Regions from separate parts of the Homo sapiens genome. Here region 2 is linked to region 1. Evidence: promoter capture Hi-C in 16 types of primary human blood cells and fetal thymus (Javierre and others, 2016). All regions are on one chromosome and are shown on one strand. The core of a region is centred on a gene start or on the middle of the fragment in contact, and the rest is flanking DNA. Distances in the headings are between cores, read along the strand shown.

Evidence for each region. The method cuts DNA at HindIII sites, captures the fragments that hold promoters and counts their contacts. A CHiCAGO score of 5 or more calls a contact.
Region 2: a contact is called between the fragment with the promoter of NPEPL1 here and the fragment with the promoter of RAE1 in region 1, in 1 of 17 cell types (total CD8 T cells). The highest score is 5.2, in total CD8 T cells.

What each region holds. Positions count from the first base shown.
Region 1 is chr20:57,349,805-57,353,028 of GRCh38, forward strand. It overlaps RAE1 (ribonucleic acid export 1), which reads left to right and starts at 1,451. Exons shown (of 12, transcript NM_003610.4): 1 at 1,451-1,618. RefSeq lists enhancers at 1,082-1,650, 1,841-1,920. The HindIII fragment of the contact is 3,413 bases long and covers 1-1,738 here.
Region 2 is chr20:58,690,998-58,694,233 of GRCh38, forward strand. NPEPL1 (aminopeptidase like 1) reads left to right here and starts at 1,803. Exons shown (of 12, transcript NM_024663.4): 1 at 1,803-2,053; 2 at 2,740-2,925. The coding sequence starts at 1,904. STX16-NPEPL1 (STX16-NPEPL1 readthrough (NMD candidate)) reads left to right here. Exons shown (of 23, transcript NR_037945.1): 9 at 37-230; 10 at 408-565; 11 at 727-783; 12 at 2,740-2,925. RefSeq lists an enhancer at 1,236-1,941 and silencers at 1,439-1,928, 1,939-2,098, 2,129-2,208, 2,229-2,318. The HindIII fragment of the contact is 11,943 bases long and covers 1-3,236 here.

The sequences.
Region 1 (3,224 bases), core at 201-2,700:
CTAGAGGTTCTCAGTCTTGGCTGCATCTTAGAATCACCTGGGGAGCTTTTAAAAAATATTAATTTCCTCTTTTCTAGCCCAGGCGTACTAAATCAGAATCTCTAAGGGTGCAGTGTAAACATCACAGTTTTTAAAAAGCTGCCCAGGATTCCAAATGATCTACAGCCTTGGTACTTAACTCTGGTTCACGGCCCAGCAACCTCTGCTGGGAATTTGGTAGAAATGTGGATTTTTAGGCCCATCGTAGACCTACTGAATCTGCATTTTATAAAAAGATACCCCAGATCCTAAACCTCCTTAAGAAGGTCAAGGCACGCAGACCACACTGAGTAGTGAAGGAGAGAATCCAGGGTAGCTACATAACCTCACGAAATCCCTTCCTTGTGATCTGTCTTTTCCTTCACTTCCTTCTTCAGATGCTCCTAAAAGTAGGGGTTGGGAGGAAACAACCAACTGAAATATTTGGAGTGGGCGTGTGTGAGTAATAAGAATCCCTTAACATTTCTACAGACAGTTCTATTAGTAAGAGTAGTTCACGTATGATTTCACTTGACCCTAATTAGGAACAGCCCTGGCATCATTTTCCCCACCATGCAGCAGGAAACTGAGGCCCAAAGAGCCCCGAGGTGGGCTCAGGGTACCCCAGTGGGCAAACAGGGAGAGGCCAGGGCGGGAAACCCGCGGCCGACCTCGCCTTGTTCGGAGGCAGCGTTAGAGCAGCTTCTCGGAGGTTGGCCTTGGACGTGAATTGGAAGCAATCAGAATCTTTTAGATGTTTATACATGATAAATGCAATAATTAATTCACAAGAGAAAACAGCTAGCTACCTTGCACTAGCCCTAGTTGCGGATTGATTGACTGATTTGAGATGGAGTTTCGCTCTTGTTGTCCAGACTGGAGTGCAATGGCATGGTCTCGGCTCACTGCAACCTCCACCTCCTGGGTTCAAGCGATTCTCCTGCCTTAGCCTCCCAAGCAGCTGGGATTACAGGCACCCGCCACCATGCCCGGCTAATTTTTGTATTTTTAGTACTGACGGGGGGACGGGGGGGCGGGGGGGCGGGGGGACGGGGGGCGGGGGGGGCGGGGGGGGCGGGGGGACGGGGGCGGGGGGCGGGGGGGGGCGGCGCGGGGGGGCGGGGGGGGCGGGGGGCGGGGCGGTTCACGATGTTGGCCAGACTTGTCTTGAACTCCTGACCCCAGGTGATCAGCCCGCCTCGGCCTCCCAAAGTGCTGGGATTACAGGCGTGAGCCACCGCGCCTGGCCAGTTGCGGATTTATAAAAGCAGTCGCTTAGTAACTTGCAGCGGCTACATCAACTTTGGACCAATTCGCAAACTGCTGGTGTAAAGCGTTTTTGCGCATGTGCTGTCGCCTTGCGGGAAAAGGAGCCTTTTTCTTCGACGATTTCCGGGCGACGCAGGAAGTGGCTCCAGGGCGCACGCGCGTTGTTTCCGCGGTAGTCAGGGCAGTTTCTACCGCAGGCTTAAGGAGGCTTCGGGCTCCTGGGATTTCTGTCCGCGCTCCTGGCCCTCGTCCTTCGCGCCAGAGCAGGTTCGCAAACTCCTCAGACCCTTCTGCTCCCGGCCGCCGCTTTCCGCCGGGGCGAGACCCCCAGGTAGGCCCCGTGCCGCGCGCGTCCCGTCGTTAACCGCCGCCATGGCTCCCGCAGAGGCCGAGTTGCCTCCCGGGAGCGCGCTTCTGCGGGATGCTGGGGCGCGAGCGGGACTGTTGACTAAGCTTCGTTACTGGGCCCTGGAAGCGAGGTCAGAGCTGGAAATGGCCTTAGGGGTCACCTAGGGCCTAATCCATCGTTTCTCTTGTGGGGGAACTGAGCCTCTGGGAAGGGTCACATTGCGTTAATGCAGTGTGTGTCGCCTCTGTCCCTCCCCCTTACACGTCTGGCGTCTCGTCAGATACATGTCAGCTCCTGGGAGAAGCTTTCCCTGGCCGCTTTGCAGAAGGGCGTCCCCTTTTAGCCTCTTCCACGTCAACCTGCTCCATTTCTTTCGTAGCAGTTACCAGTCTCTGAAACTAAGTCTGTTTCTGTCTTAGCCCGCCAAGTATTTATTGTATACGTATATAGGTGCCACCGTACAGGCAGTACTTCTCCAGGCAAGTAGTATTAAACACCAGCCGCCCTGGGCCAGGCATTGTACTGTGGGACCCAGTATGCATTAAGGGAAGAATCCAGGCAAGTGGCTGCCCTCTTGGAGCCAGCATTCTGGGGGGGAAGAGATTTTGAGTGTAAACAAGAAATTCCAGGGGATGTGATGGAAGATTAGATATGTTAAAGTTGGCAAAGAAGCGTCTGAGGAGGTGACTTTAAAAAAGAATACGTGTGACAGCTTTATTGAAGTATAAAATAACATTAATTTCAACCATTGAAAGTGTATATTGTGAGTTTGGAAATTTTATGCAGTTGCGTAAACATGGCAAGTTCAAATTTGGGACATTTTCATCACCCCAAGAAGTTCGGAGGAGGCAACTTTTGAACTGGGATATGAAGATTCAAACGGAGGTAGCTGTGGGGAGGGAGAAGCAAATCATCCCAAGCTGAAGGAACAGCACTAGGTTTGCTCCAAGGCAGGGATGAGCTTGTTGTGTTCAGCGGAGAAAGGAAGCCAGCAGAGCTAGGAGGGCTGGGGTGCAGCAAGGCGGGAGAGAGCGGGAAGAGATTAGGTGGGTCCCACAGATGACTGTGCCTTCTGAACTTTGGAAGCTTCCCAGTGCTCAGCATAAGGTGTGGTCCACACTGACTAACACGAACGATTCTCACCTACCATGTTCTTTTTCCTAAGTTCATCCCTAATGGCAGAAATGTTCTCTCCCAACTTGAAGGTTGAGGTAGAGGAATAGAGTGAAAGTAATATTTATTAAGAACCTGTAGTGCTTTAGGCAGTGTGTGTGTGTGGCTTCATTTAGTTCTCATAACTCTGTGAAGTAGATATTAGTGTCTCTGTTTTACAGATGAGAAAATCAAGGTTAAGTGACCCGTCCAAAGCCGTGTAACCAGCACCTGGACTGATTGCAGAAGCCTTGTCATGCCTTTGTTCGTTCATACAGCCAACTGGTGTTTCAAGTACCTCTGCATTTGAGGGCAGAAGTGTGGCCGGCAAGGACCACATCCCCTCACGTTCACTAAAATGTACATGTGCTTGTAGCTGTTGCTCTGACCTTTTGTTCTGCACTTATTTTTCATGAAGCTGAGGAAACTCAAATGC
Region 2 (3,236 bases), core at 553-3,052, 1.3 Mb after region 1:
CTGCTGGACATATTCTGCGTCTGTGTTTCCTCCCAGGACTTCTCCCACGTGGAAGGCCTTCTTTCTCAATCTCTTCGCCTGTGGAAGTCCTATTACATCTGTCAGGGCATGGCCTTAGTCTCTCACCCTCTAGGAAGATCCTCCAGCTGTCTCAGTCCTCTGGAGTGCCGTGTGCCTGTCTGCAACGTATTTGCAAACAGAAAAAAGAGTGAGAGATCTTCATACACACTGTTAGTACCCTTTACCAATGTGTGAAAACATTCAGCTGCTGTAAAATCTTTTGAAGAAAATAAGATCCAATTAGCGTTGACTTTTATGTCGGGAAAGCTGAGGGTTTCAAAGGAATGCCTTTCAGTCATTCAACAGCTTTTTTTTTTTTTTTTTTTTTTTTTTTTTTTTTTTTTGAGTGCCTGCTCTGTGCCAGGAACTGGAGGAAAAAAAAACAACAAAAAGTCAAAAAGACCTGCCTTCAGGATGCTGAAGCTCTAGTCTGTGGTGTTTCCAAGGGGCCAGGGACCATGGCTCAGAGCTGAGCAGACAGACCTGGAGCCTGTGGACAGGGAAGGTGAAAGCCTGGCTTGTGGCTCCCGGGGCTACAAGTTAGGGAGCTAGGGGGCCAGCTGGGAGGTCAGTGGTGGAAAACCTCTCACACCACGCCAGGGAGTTGACAGTGCTTTTTTTTCTTTTTTTCTTTTCTTTTTTTTTTTTTTTTTTTTTCATTTTTAGGCTGGTTATGAAGAAGAAACTCAAAATAACAGGAGTGGCTTATGGAACTACATGGAGGTAACAGAGGAGGGTACCAACCAAAGGCCCTTGAGCAATCAGGATGTTGGGTAACAGATTTTTGCTTTTAAATGACTCCTGGGTGGAGCTTCCCCAATGCATCGTCATTCCCTGACCCTTGCATCTGACCCTGTGGGTGGGACCCTCCGCCTCCACCATCCACTCAAGGCTCACCCCTGGCTCCTCCACCACCCGGCTCCTGCCCCACACCCCCGATGGCCTTTCCTCCCCTGTAAGGCGACTGAGGTGACTCAGGTCACCCTGCTCCTTCCTCGTCTCATCTCGTCCCTCCTTTCCTGCTTAGACTGTGCCAGATGACCCTTCTTGCAAAGGGGTGGGCGGGAAGGCCCCCCATGCAGCCAGGCAGTGCCTGGATTTGTAACTGGCCATCCCAGCAGCAGTGCCCTGGATGGAAAGCCACGTCCCTGTCACCCTCTCACATCCAGGGCAGTGCCTGGCAGAGCGGGGTCTGATAAACGCCAGGGAACCTCCGATTAAGTGAGGAGGAAGTGACCGTCCACGCTGTACCCACCATGCCAGGCAGTGGGACAAAAGGACCTGACTCAGGTCCAAGAGTCACTGGGCCCCTCCGGCCTAACTGATGGGTGGCCAGGGTGCGGGGTCCCTGGGGATCAAAAGCAGCTGCTAAGGGACCTCGGGGGACCTGCTTGGGGCCAGCCTGAGGCCTGACCGGGCGGAACTGCGTCGGGTGGGCTTGGGCCTACGTCGGCCCAGGCCCCACTGGAGGCCAGGCCCGTCCGGGAGGCGCTGCCTGGCGGGCCACGTCGCCCCGCGTGTTGGGCAGGGCCGCTAGGCCCAGGGGCGGCGCCGCTGGAGGCCGGGCGCGCGGGCCCTACTCGGCAGGGCCTGCTCGGGGCCGGCTTCGGGCCTGCCCGGCCGGGCCTGCCCGCACCCTTCCGCCCGGCCTGGCCGGCGCCCCCTCGCGCCCCGGGCGGGCCCTGCACGTCTCGCGAGCAGCCCGGAGCGGCGGGGGAGGCGGGGCCCGCGGGCTGCCGGGCAGGGCCGGGGCGGTGCCGAGGCCGGGCCGGAGCGGGGCGAAGGGGGCCGAGCGGCGGGCCGGGCCGGGCCGGGCAGGGCCGGGGCGTGGGCCGGCAGGAAGATGGCGAACGTGGGGCTGCAGTTCCAGGCGAGCGCGGGGGACTCGGACCCACAGAGCCGGCCCCTGCTGCTGCTCGGGCAGCTGCACCACCTGCACCGCGTGCCCTGGAGCCACGTCCGCGGGAAGCTGCAGCCCCGGGTCACCGAGGAGGTGAGCGGGCCGCCGGCCGCCATGCGACCCGCGCCGCGGAAGCCCAGGCCCGGGCGGCCCGCGGAGGCCCCGCCTCGCCCGCCGCACCCCCGCCGCCGCCGGGCCGGGCCCAACGAGGCCGGGCCGCCTCCCTGAAGGGCTCAGCCGCCAGGCCAGTCCTCGCCCGCGGAGGCCCAGCCCCAGGCCCCGTCGCCGGTGCGGCGCGGTGGTCCTCCTGTCAGCCCAGCCCTGCGCCCCGCGAGGCCGCGACACCTGCGGACGGCGGGGGGGGAGACGTGGCCGCTCCCAGGGCCGCGCGTCGGCCCCGCCTGGCGACAGGCCCTGGCTTCCAGAAGTTCCCATGGCAGTGTCCCCAGCTGCCTTTCCTTGGGGACACCTGGCCCCTGCCCCCTCTCTGGTGGAAGCCGCCTAAGCCCTATCCGAGTGTTGGAAGCAAAGCAGCCCCCAGCCTGGCCCTTCCAGGCTTGGTGGCTTCATCCCACCAGGGGGATGCGAGCCAGCCTAGAGACAGTTAGCTCTGCAGAGAGGCGACACATCTCCCTAAGGATGGGAAAACGGTGGCCGGGAGCTGCGCAGTGCCCTTCCAGGACTGCAGGAGTGGTTGTGGCCGTGGCTGCAGGGCAGGGCCTCCTGGCACGTGGCCGCTGTTTGAAGCCTCTGTGTCTTGTCTCTCCCTTCTGATCTAGCTCTGGCAGGCTGCCCTGAGCACGCTCAACCCCAACCCCACGGACAGCTGTCCCCTCTACCTGAACTACGCCACCGTGGCTGCCCTGCCCTGCAGGGTGAGCCGGCACAACAGCCCCTCGGCCGCCCACTTCATCACGCGGCTGGTGCGGACCTGCCTGCCGCCCGGAGCGCATCGCTGCATTGTGGTGAGTGCTTCGAGAGGAGGCAGCCACGGTGCTCCTAGTCGGGCAGCGGTGAGCTCGGGCCTGGGGAGCTCACAGCCCTGCTCAGACTGCAGCGCACGCCCAGAGGGCTGTGGACGTTATCATCCCTGCTCTGTAGACAGGGAAACAGGTCCAGAGAGACGCGGGGATTTGCCCCAGATCAGTTTTGGTGGCAAATCAGAGACTCAAACCTAGATTTCCTGAGGCCCACTTTGTGTCTGTCCCTCTGTCCCTCATTTTCATGGCTGGTCAGGCTGTTGACATCTGGTGGCCAATGTGTTATTTCTCTTGGA